Regions from separate parts of the Homo sapiens genome. Here region 1 is linked to region 2. Evidence: promoter capture Hi-C in human tissues and cell types (Jung and others, 2019). All regions are on one chromosome and are shown on one strand. The core of a region is centred on a gene start or on the middle of the fragment in contact, and the rest is flanking DNA. Distances in the headings are between cores, read along the strand shown.

Evidence for each region. The method cuts DNA at HindIII sites, captures the fragments that hold promoters and counts their contacts. A contact is called where the count stands out against the background at its distance.
Region 1: a fragment that was not itself captured here is called in contact with the fragment with the promoter of AFF4 in region 2 in 1 of the 25 tissues and cell types used here (hippocampus).

Annotation. Positions count from the first base shown.
Region 1 is chr5:132,431,079-132,437,368 of GRCh38, forward strand. All of the region lies in intron 2 of CARINH (colitis associated IRF1 antisense regulator of intestinal homeostasis), which reads left to right. Among named protein-coding and RNA genes, the nearest start is that of LINC02863, 7.5 kb to the left of the region's middle. The HindIII fragment of the contact is 9,906 bases long and covers 1-6,290 here.
Region 2 is chr5:132,961,054-132,967,244 of GRCh38, forward strand. AFF4 (ALF transcription elongation factor 4) reads right to left here and starts at 2,581. Exons shown (of 21, transcript NM_014423.4): 1 at 2,206-2,581. It overlaps AFF4-DT (AFF4 divergent transcript), which reads left to right and starts at 2,759. Exons shown (of 2, transcript NR_186175.1): 1 at 2,759-3,081; 2 at 3,188-3,637. RefSeq lists an enhancer at 1-109 and a silencer at 2,036-2,875. The HindIII fragment of the contact is 9,387 bases long and covers 353-6,191 here.

The sequences.
Region 1 (6,290 bases), core at 916-3,415, 530 kb before region 2:
CCCAAGAATACGACAGAGGTTCTTTTTTTTTTTTTAAGTTCTGAAACTGCTGATTCAGTTTGCATGAGGATATTACTTTTTTAAAGGAACTTTCAAAAACACCTAAAATTTAATTTTAGCCATAGTTTAGTTAGAGAATCCCTGGGTACAGAATTTTTCTCTACTTCCCAGCATTTACAGAATCTGATGTCACTTGGGAGTTGGAGGGAGACTTTGGGGGAACAGCCAGGAAGTGGCCCTTGGGTCCTTGAGCCATCTAGTTGGGGAGAAAGGGCCATTTTTACCCTGAAACTCTGTTCTGTTCATGTGCATTGTCCCAAGGTTCTTATGAAGACAGTCGGTCCTTATGAAGACAGTCAGTTCTTGACTGTCTTCATGACTTGTCTGGCCAGCTCTTCAATACCTTAGCCAGACAAGACCATAAAAGGCCACCTGCTTTACTTATATTTGACTGTTGGTAAGGTTGACCCTGAAATCTTTTACATTTGTATTTCTTTTGATAATTTTGTTCACATGTATGTTAGAAACTGCTCATTGCTCTACAGTATCCATTCCCTCTTTCTTAGTAACAAAACCAATTTTTTGCTGATCCCTTTTCCACCCAGCTGAAAACTACGTTCCCCTGGCAATTTTGCAGCAAAGTGTGATCATGTGGCTGGGTTCCGGACAATGGATGCAAGTGGGTGTCATATGGGACTTCGAAGCCAGCTCCTTAACAGGAGGGGGTGTGCCCTTTATTCACCCTCCTTTCTCCATCCTACTTTCTTAAATGAGGATGTGGTGACTATCACTCTAGCAACTACCACAAGACATGAGAATGAGAGCTGCACTTTAGGAATAGGGGCAGGATGAGCCAGAAGAAGCGTAGGTCCCTGGTGACACCTGAAGTCACCAAACCAGCCCTGAACTGATCATTTCTAGACCTTTTTTTTCAGTGAGAGAAAGAAAGAAAATCCCATCTTGCTTAAGCCACTATTGTTTTCTGTTTTATGTAACTGAACAAAATTCTAACCAATACAAAATAATGTTTATAATACACAATACCATAATCAATGCTGTTTTTCTTTTTCTTTCTTTTTTTAAGAGACAGGGCCTTGCTTTGTCAACCAGACTGGAGCGCAGTGGCACAATCATAGCTCACTGCAGCCTCGAACTCCTGGGCTCAAGCAATCCTTTTACCTCAGCCTCCAGAGTAGCTAGAACTACAAGTGTGCACCACCATACCTGGCTAACTTATTTTTTATAGAGATGGGATCTTGCTGTGTTACCCAAGCTGGCCTTGAACTCCTGGGCTCAAGCAATCCTCCCACCTTGGCCCCCTGAGTAGATGGGATTACAGGCACATACCACCATGCCCAGCTCCAGTGCTGTTTTTCTTTGGAGAGTGTATTTTTATTACTGATTACAAACTCATCTGTGTTTTTTGGGTTTTGTTGTTGTTGTTGTTTTGTTTTTTGCTTTTTTTTTTTATATGAAGTCTCACTCTGTCTCCTTGGCTGGAGTGCAGTGGTGCAATCTCAGCTCATTGCAAACTCTGCCTCCTCAATTCCAGCGATTCTCCTTCCTTAACCTCCTGAGTAGCTGGCATTACAGGCGCAAGCCTCCATGCCCAGCTAAATTTTTGTATTTTAGTAGAGACACGGTTTCACCATGTTGCCCAAGCTGGTCTCAAACTCCTGACCTCAAGTGATCCACCCATGCTGGCCTCTCAAAGTGCTGGGATTACAGGCATGAGCCACACCCAACCATATGTTTTTTATATATGAAGGACATGTCCTTTCTGTCAGTGTTGCTGTAAATATAATTCCTTGTTTTTGCTTGTCTTTTGATTTTGTTTATGAGTTCTGTTTTTAAAGTCTTGGTGTTTGTTTTTAATATGGCTAAAATTTCTTTAAAATGCTGTTTGCTCTTTTATCCAAAATTCTTCCCCCCTTAGATAAGTATTCACCAATATTTTTCTGGTTTTTCAATGACTTCACTGTTTACAATTAGCGTTTTAGTCCATTGGTGAGTACTGTTGGTAAGTTTTTAATCTTTTGTAGGTCATAAGTGTTTAGGCCTAAATACTCTCCTGAGTTCTAAAGCAGGAGCCAGCGTCACCTCTTGTTTATACACCCTGTCCTGGCCTGAGCCTCCTGAAGGCTGGCACATTCAGCACAGACCCCTCTCACTCCTACTTCCCACCCACCGCCCTTCTGTGGGTCACCTGCCCACTACTCAAGATAGCACTCTTGGCTTCTTCTGGAACTTCTGTCTTCACCACCCTGTGTTCGGCTCTATTCCAACTCATCTCTAATTTCTCTTTACCGAGACCAGGCCGCTGACAGCCCTCTCAACGATTCTAGGAGATTTTTGTTATTTCTTCTCTGGAAATACAATATAAAGAATTTTTATATGGTTTTCCAAGTAGATATGAAGCTTTTTAAATTAAAATTTTGTGTTCTGATAAGAGAAATGAACCATCTTCATCATTTTAAGAAGTAGAAAATATATTATAGAAAAGCACCAAAGAAAATAAAAACAACATAGAAAGTAAAAAGTGAAAGCCCTACCACCTTCAAGAGGTGACCTCTGTCAACAGTTGATATATCTCTTTCCAGACTTATTTATACAAACAAATGTGGATCTTTATAAATATACGTATGCACAGCTTTGTTCATGAAAATGGGAGCATGCTATATACTTTGTACAGCAACTGGCTTTTTTTTTTTTTTTTTTTTTGAGACAGAGTCTCACTCTGTTGCCCAGGCTGGAGTGCAGTGACACAATCTTGGCTCACTGCAACCTCCACCTCCCAGGTTCAAGCGATTCTCCAGCCTCAGCCTCCCAAGTAGCTGGGATTACAGGCACCCGCCACTACGCCCAACTAATTTTTGTATTTTTAGTAGAGACAAGGTTGCACCATGTTGGCCAGGCTGGTCTCAAACTCCTGACCTCAGGTGATCCACCCGCCTCAGTCTCCCAAAGTGCTGGGATTACAGGCGTGAGCCACCACTCCCGGCTAGCAACCGGCTTTTTACAAATAGCAGTCTATTGTGTATATTTCTCTATGACAGTACATAGAGACCTGCTGTCTTCTTTTTAAAGGCTGCTTGGTATGTATTCCACCACGTAGATGTACTGCTAGTTCATCTCCTCCCCTACAGATGACCACAAAGTTTTTCAATGTCCTGATAATATTTATAGGCCACTACATCCTCATTTTTATACTTTTATGCATTTGTGCTAGTGTTTCTATAAAATAGATTTCTACAATTGAGACTGTTGAGTTAAAGGGTATATACATAGTAAGTTGTATATACTTCCAGTTGCCCCTTGTTGAAACCTTGTACCAATCAGTGCAGTGTCCTTTTAAATGGTCTTTTCATTGCCTGTTGCTTCCCTGTCTCCCCACCCCCCGGCTCTTCACCCTAGTGCTAGAATTGCTTTTATGAAACTCAGATCTGACCATGGCTTGCCCTGTTTAAAATACCTCAGTGGCTCCTCACTGTCAGCAAAACCCAAACATTCATCTAAGCTCCTTCTCAGTTGGAGTCCTCTGGGAAGCAGACACCAAAACAGAATGAAAAGTGCAGAAGATTTATTGGGGGTAAGAAGAGCTAATGCCTATGAAAGATAAAGGAGAAAGGAGCAGAAGTACGGAGAGAAAAGACAGCTTTCAGACTGCAGTCCAGATCTAACTCTGGGACGCAAGAGAGGGAAGGATAATTCTGTTGAAAGAGCATCAGACTGTGATGCGGCTGTAAGAGTGTCTCAACGAGCCCAGTGGGGAGTTCCAGCCAAAGATTGCCCAGGAGAAGAGTCGCACTTTGGGCAGAAATGGACAGGCCCGAGCAACCCTGCCATGTTCTGTCATTGGCTGGGGGCCACCCAGGAGGCAACATGGTCTGACTTGAATGGTGTGGATCCGAGGCTGCAGCCTGTCAGCTGTCTGCACTCCATGCAACAGGTCCTTTGAATGGCATGTGTTCGTGGCTGCCATAAACTGCAGCCTGCCTTTTAGCCTTACCTCCTTTGCTCTTGCTCTCTGACCCCGTGTTCTGGCAACACTGGCCTGACTACACGCCGTATCACATACAACCAACTGCCCATACCAACCCCAACCCTGACCTTTGCTCACTCAGTTCTTTCTGCCTGGAATGCCACTCCTTCCCAGTTATACCCAGCAAAATCCTAATGTGCTTTCAAGGCCCAACTTAAAAATCATCTTCTCTGGTTGACCTCACCATGTAGAATTAATTGTTCCTTGCTCCTATGGTGCTATGTGTATATTAGTACTTCCCAGATTGGAGTATTCTTAGCTGTTTTTTTCTCAGATTTTTGCCTCCTCTAAACCTAGCAAAACGTCAGCACACAGTAAATGTTGACTGAGCTGTTTCCCTGCTCCTCGCAAAGCACCTTGAGGTTGCAGAATTCCAACTCCCGGAATGGTTGGAAGCACACAGTACATGGTCAATAAGTGTTTGTTGACTTGTCTGGGACCTAGTATTGGTGGGGTGAGGTGGGCAGAAGGCTGCTGAGGGTGGGTATTTACTGTTGTTGGGGCTCACCAGTCTGGGGCCACATTGGAGTTTTAAGACTAGAGCATGTCTTCCCCTGTTTTTATTTTTCTCCATGATTTGGAAAGACCCCAGAGGTGGGTTTTTTTTTTTTTAAGTAATCACTTTATTGTCTCTGGTCAACAAATGAGAACTTTTATGGGTCTTCCCTTTTTCAACCACATTTTCATGAGTTGGGATTTTGCATTTCTTCATTACCCATTCTCCTTATGGGTAAAAGAAGAGCCATTATGATACCTAGGATGAGAGCTCCAGGTCAGATGGGTAATCATTTTCAGACTGGAGGCTCATGGGATACAGGGAATTGGGAAGGTAGAAATGATATTTTTCCTCTTCCTCTTTCCCACATCCACCAATTAAAGAACTTCCCTGGGAGTGGACCTGTGGGAAGTGGCTAAGGGTTTCCGGGGTGGGTACAGCAGGGAGTGACATCAGGGCGTGGTGGGGATGAGGTGGGTGGAGAGGACAAAGAGGGACTCTCCACCTTCCTTTGGATCTATGAGGATGTTCCTTGGCCACTGTCCCTCAGCAGAAGGAGGCTAGAGCTGAGGTGGCCACACCCTCCACTCATTTTCAATCCCTTCAAACTGTCAGGCCCTCAGAGGAAACCCTAGGGTTTCCCCACCAAGATGTAAGGGCTGTGTGCCTCTGCCTTCTCTCTTAGGGTGGTCAGCACAGGTGGAAGCAGGGAGGTACTGGGCTGAGGCTTCGGTTGTCAGTGCTAGCTTGACAGCAGTTAAGAATTTTTTTTGTTTTGTTTTTTAAAATTTATTTTTCTGTAATTTTTAATGTAGTTAAAATTTATACATAATTCACACCACTTCAATTTATACATATTGAAACATCACTATGTATCCCATAAACGTATAATTATTATGTATTATCATTGTCTGGGACCTCATATTGTGTGTTATAATGATTATACATATTTACAAGGTACATAATGATGTTTCAATACATATTATGTATAGTGATCACATCAGGGTAATTAGCATATCCACCATCTCAAATGTTTGTCATCTCTTTGTGTTGGGAACAGTCACTATCCTCCTCCTAGCTATTAGCAGTGGTTAGGGATTTTGGAAGTTGTGTAGTGTGAAGAAGCCTGTGGGCCAGAGGTTCTTATCACAGACTCTTTCTTCTTCAGGAGCTATGAACCATCCTTCCCCAAAGTGTTATCAAACTGTGCCTTTGGTGGAGGCATAGCTCTCGTCGGATTCTTTTTTGCCAGAAAGATCTGTGAACGAAACTGCTACTATGTTAACTCAGAGAACAGCCTCCCTAATAAAGAAGAGGATGTGTTCCTACAAGAGCCAGGTTTTAGTTGGATTGTTAGTGTGAGTGATGAAGACCTCAGAATGGCTCTAGAAAGAAGCCCAGATCTCAGCTTTGCACTGTGATTGTCCCCCAGCAACTTTGCATTCCCCCTGTATGGGAATAGGGACCTGTGGATTCTGTTGCCATAGATCCAGAGATTGGACCTAGGAAAGTGAGACCAGGTGGTCTGACACCTACCTCCAGAGCGGACAACCCAGAGACAGAGCAGGCCCCTGCAGGTGTAGGGGCTGGCGGCGAGAAGACAGCTATGTTTACCCTTGTAGACTAGGAATATCAGTATGAATAGACTAGTCCTAGGCTTTGAAATGAATTTTAGTGTTCATTATTATTTGGTCATTCTAAAAACCCCTATTTTGAACCTCCACTTCAGAGAAATAGTTCTGATGTTCTCAG
Region 2 (6,191 bases), core at 1,331-3,830:
TCTACTAAAAATACAAAAAACATTAACTGGGAATGGTAGTGTGTACCTGCAATCCCAACTACTCAGGAGGCTGAGGCAGGAGAATCGCTTGAACCCAGGAGGCAGAGGTTGCAGTGAGCAGAGATGGAGCCACTGCATTCCAGTGGTGTGATCTCGGCTTACTGCAACCTTCGCCTCCCAGTTCAAGCGATTCTCAAGCGATTCTCGTGCCTCAGCCTCTGGAGTAGCTGGGACTACAGGCATGTACCACCATGTCTGGCTAATTTGGTTCTCATGCCTCAGCCTCTCAAGTAGCTAGAACTACAGGTGTGCACCACCACACCTGGCTAATTCTTGTATTTTTAGTAGAGACGGGGTTTCATTATGTTGGCCAGGATGGTCTAGAACTCCTGACCTCAGGTGATCCGCCCACCTCGGCCTCTCAAAGTGCTAAAGTGCTAGGATTACAGGCGTGAACCACCAGGCCCGGCTGCAGAATATATTGCTACAAAAAGGGTACAATAACTCAAGAGTACACAGAAGAGAATGTATCAACCTGAATGTGAGAATCTGACAAGTAGAAAGTGACTCAGAACAAAAATATTCAATCTTTAAGAATTCTTAATTACACAGCTTCACCTTACACTCCCAAACTGTAGATCATGTTCCAATTAACACAGCTGGGCTCTTTTTTCAGACACCCCATCTTGTCCCCACTTGAAGCAAAATTTTATTTAAAGTAAAATTTGCCTACTGTTTCTAGAGAGTTAACAAAAATCAAAGTACCAGCCTGCAAACCACCGCAAATTGAATGAAACTGCTGGTAATAAAAAAAGAAAAATTTGACTGCTTCCAGGTTTTTAGTAAGTTAACTCTGAAAGATAACTTAAAATAACTTACTGGGAATTTTTCTTATATTTAGGAGCTGAAAGATGCAGTGATAATAAGGAAAACGAATCTGAGAAATTTAAAGAAGCCAGCTTTGTTGAAAACCAAGTGGCCACTTGCCAACACTTCTTTATGCACGTATGACCAAAGATGATTCTAGGCAGACTCACAGACCACAAAGGCTCTTTATCAAATCCCAAATTAAGAAAGTTCTCATAAATATTTCAATTTTGATAAGTTAAAGACCAGTTAAGTTTTAAAAAGCACTTTATGAAGTGCAGAATCAATACAGAAACGAAGCTTTGCGCTTTTCATATCTGAGCCCGAAAAACAGCACACATTTTATGTTACATTTACAGTCTATTCACAGACACCTATAGCTTAGATTCCATCAAGAAAAACACTGGTCAATGGAAAAGTGACTGGCCTTAGTATAAAATTTCCATGTGGCCAGCAGGGAAGAAACCGCATAATTCTGAATTACAACTGACAAAACTACGAGAACCCTAAATCGAACTCTTCGCCTTGAACTCCATATACAAACATTTCAGATTCGTACTTCCACTTCCTGAAAATAATACTGTTTGTAAACGAAAAGGCAATAAGGTTACTCCCAAAACTCCTGTACTCCATGATCCATCCTCAAAGAGTGGAAGGAACAGCAAAGTAGAAGGAACAAAGCACTGACGTCAATTACGAGATTAACCCCAAGCACAGGCAGCTGGAGGAAAGGCCTAAACATCAATATCCACGCACAAGCTACTGGGATAACTAGGTAACAGACCGATTCAGAAGTTGTAGGGGAGGGTATTCGAGTATTATACCCCCACGTTCCCATTTTTAGTCAATCCCCTTCGCAAGTCGAAGGCGGAAATTTTTCCTTCTTTTTTTTTTTTTTTTGCGGGGGTGGGGGTGTGGGAGAGGTGCGCAGGATCGCGAGAAGGAAAGCGAGAACTAGCTGGGTAATGTTAGCCAGAATCTGGGCCTATTTTCTCTTTAATTAGACATAATTTGAAATTGAGGAGGATATGAAAAAGTAACAAATCAGCCGATGGAACGTCTGAGGAAAGAAAGAGGAAAGGAGAAACACTAAACGGATGGATTTCTGGGAATTTTTGTTAGGATTGGGTTAGCTTTTTTTATTTTCTTATCTTTGCGGGAAGGTGGTGGGGTGGGACGCGCAGATGAGAGGAGGGGTGACGCCTGATTGAGCAGCCCCAGCCCGGAGGGTCTCCCCGAGGCTCCCCGCAGAACTTGCGGGCCCCCACCCCCACCCGGCCCCGGCCACAACCCCCGCGGCCCGGCCCGGCCCTGGGTCAGTCTGTCGGCCCTTCTTACCTCCAGTCCCGGCTCCGCTAGGCCCGAACCATCTCCTGGCTGCGGCAGTGGCGGCGCCGGGCCTGCACCTTCACCGGACGCGCATTCGAGCCCGCCCAGGGGGCGGTGACAGGCTGCCAAGGGCGAGGGGCTCCGGGAGGCGGCGGGGGTTCCGGAGGCCTCGACAAACGAAGGCGGCGTCGGCGGCGGCGGCAGCGATGCGCCTCACACGGAACAGGCGTAGGCCCCGCACCGCTCCATGACGGTCGGGCCCGGGCTGGGACAGCTGACTGAGGCGGCGGGGGCGGGTTAACGAAGACCTGGCACCAGGATCCCCGCCCCGTCCGCTGGCGGCGGCGACGGCAGCTGGACTCCTGCAGCCAGGGCTGTGACTGACGCAGCGGCCGTGCCACCATGTGACCAAGACCGGGCGGGTGCGGGGCGTCACGTGATGCCTCTGCGCCCCTCCCCGCTGGGGGAGTAGGGGGCGGGGGTCTGTGGGCCGGCTGGGCCGGGAGGCGACGCCCGGGGTGGTGACGTTCCCGGCTGTGGGGTCTGATGACCCGGGCCAGGCAAAGGACCCGCCCGAGCGGTATAGGCCTGAGCCTCTGGGCACTGCGGCCGCGTCCGGCAGGGCTGCCACGGCAGTACAGGGCCTGCACATCCGGGAGCTCACGCCCTCCTGCGCGTAGCCCGCTAGTGAGGTTCCGAAGGGCGGGGCCGGGCCGAACCGGATATGCCGGTTCTGGGGCTCAGGTGACAAACCCAGGCCTTCCGCCCCTCGCCTCTGGTGGGGATCCGGCCCAACCCGGAGCTTCCTAGACTTGCTTCCAGGTGTCGAAGCCTCGAGTCCTCAAGAGGTCCAGCAAAAAGGCAAAGGACGCAGGAGGCTGTTCGGTATTTCCAGTAAACTTACCCTAAGAAGCCAAACCGTCCCTCTTTCTTCGTCATTTAAACATCTTCTGCCACTAATGTTTTCCTTTTCATTTATTTATTGAGATAGATCTCGCTGTTGTCGCCCAGGCTGGAGTACAATGGCGGGATCTCGGCTCACTGCAACCTCCGCCTCCCGAGTTCAAGCGATTCTAGTACCTCAGCCTCCGGAGTAGCTGGGATTAAAGGGGGGAGCCACCACCTACGGCTAATTTTTGTATTTTTAATAGAGACACGGTTTCACCATGTTGGCCAGGCTGGTCTCGAACTCCTGACCTCAACCAATCCACCCGCCTGGGCCTCCCAAAGTGTTGGGATTACAGGCGTGAGCCACCGCACCCGGCCCACTAATGTTTTTCTTCAGCATATCATTCTGAACACTTCTTTCACCTCTAAACATCTACTATTTCTTTTAAGCTTCACTCTTTATATGCATTTTCTCTATAGAGCTATATAAATTAGGAAATGTCTTAATAGAAAACTCAAAACATGACAGAATAAAAAATAATTGATTCTCCCATCTCTGTCTGTTAGCTGTTTCAGTCCTGGAAGGCAATCACTTAGCATTTAATAATGTATCTTTCCCTACATATTTGTAAGTAATACATTAAAATATAGGGATACTTCTTTTTACACAAAAGGTAACACACTATATACGCTGTTCAGTCCTTTTTTTCTCACTTCAAATATCTTGGATAGGCTGGGCACAGTGGCTCAGGCCTATGATCCCAACACTTTAGGAGGCCGAGGGGGGCTGATCGCTTGAGACCAGGAGTTTGAGACCAACCCCGGCAACATGGCAAAACCCCATCCCTATGAAAAATACAAAAATTAGCCGGGCGTGGTGGTGCATGCGTATAGTCCCACCTACTCTGGAGACTGAGGTGGGAGGATCACTTGAGCCTAGGAGGTCGGTGCTGCAGTGAGCCGGGAGCTTGCCATCCAGCCTGGATGAGAGTGAGACCCTGTCTCAAAAAAAGAAAAAAGAAAAAAATGTCTTGGACATCCTGCCATATCAGTATATAATGAACTACCTTTTTCTTCCTAGAGGCAGAATAATATTCCACTTATGCAAACATCCTAATTTATTTAACCAATCCCCTACAGGTGGATATTCCGCTTGTTGCCAAGCCATTACTATTACATGCTAAGCTGCAATGAATAACCTCATACAAGACAGGGCAACATAGTGAGACCCCATCTCTACAAAAAATAAAAAATTAGCCGTTTGTGGTGGCACAGGCTTGTGGTCCTAACTACTAGAGAGGCTGAGGTGGGAGAATCGTTTGTACCCAGGAGATGAAGGCTGCAATGAGCCCTAATCGCACCACTGCACTCCAGTCTCAGTGACAGAGCAAGACCCTGTCTCAAAAAAGTTAAAATAATTAAAAACGAAAAACAACTCCATATAATGAGCAAATTATACCTGTATGATAAATCCTTAGCCTGGAATCTTTAGATCAAAAGGATTTTTAATTTTGATAGATATTACCAAATTATCCTACACAGAAATTGTGCCTATTTCATTTACTTGCTTTCAAATTCTGCTTAAGAAGATTTACAAGGCTGTATAGGTTGGAGGGTTGAGGGGATGGAGAGTGGCAAAAGAAAAGAATATTTGTCACTTTACACCGTAATAATTTTTTTTTTTTGAGACAGAGTCTCGCTCTGTCGCCCAGGCTGGAGTGCAGTGGCGCCATCTCGGCTCACTGCAAGCTCTGCCTCCCAGGTTCACGCCATTCTCCTGCCTCAGCCTCCCCAGTAGCTGGGACTACAAGTGCCCGCCACTACGCCCGGCTAATTTTTTTGTATTTTTAGTAGAGATGGGGTTTCACCGTGTTAGCCAGAATGGTCTCGATCTTCTGACCTCGTGATCCACCCGCCTCGGGCTACCAAAGTGCTGGGATTACAGGCGTGAGCCACCACTCCCGGCCACACCATAATAATTTTGATTAAAGATGAGTATTAAGGTGCAAATTGAAAATATGTAACAAACTTTAAGTTTCCTTGCTTATTCTGAAGTAAATGTTATTTGGCTAACGCAAATAATAATATGCTTTTGTTCCATAAAGGATAGTGATACTTTTTCAATACAAAATGAAACCTTATTTAAAAACCAAAAAGGGGAGGAATGGCCAGTATAGCCTTTTATTTGGCATTATTCTGCAAATAAGAAGTTTCCGGCCAGGTGTGGTGGCTCATGCTTGTAATCCCAGCACTTTGGGAGGCCAAGGCAGGCAGATCACCTGAGGTCGGGAGTTCCAGACCAGCCTGACCAACATGGGGAAACCCAGTCTCTACTAAAAATACTAAAATTAGCTGGGCGTGGTGGCCAGTGCCTATAATCCCAGCTACTCAGGAGGCTGAGGCAGGAGAATCACTTGAATCCAGGAGGCCGAGGTTGTGGTGAGCCAAAACCTTGCTGTTGCACTCCACCGTGGGCAGCAAGAGCAAAACTCCATCTCAAAAAAAAAGTTTCCTCTGTTTCAGCAAATAAAAGAAAAAGTTCCTAAAATTATTTCTAAGTTTTTAATATTTTAATATTGTATCATTTTGTTTAAGAAGTTACATCTGTTTTAACAAAGTGAATGTTCTGTCTCTAACTTCATGTTCTAGAACAGTGTAAGACTACTGTGCAGAATGGAGAAATTGCAGAAAATGACGTACCATAAAACTAAAAGAGAAACAAAGGCCGGGCACGGTGGTTCATGCCTGTAATCCCAGCACTTTGGGAGGCTGAGGTACGTGGATCACAAGGTCAGGAGTTCAAAACCAGCCTGGCCAAGATGGTGAAACCCTGTCTCTACTAAAAATACAAAAATTAGCTGGGGGCAGTGGCAGGCGCCTGTAATCCCAGCTACTCAGGAGGCTGAGGTAGGAGAATTGCTTGAATTCGGGCTTCAGAGGTTGCAGTGAGCCAAGATCGTGCCACTGCACTCCAGCCTGGGCGACAGAGGGAGACTCTGTCTCAAAAAAAAAAAAAAAAAAGAAACAAAAATCTCAAAGCAAAATATGATTGTTTTACTAGCATGCAAGATTTTAACAAAGGATTTAGGCCAGGCACGGTGGCTCAT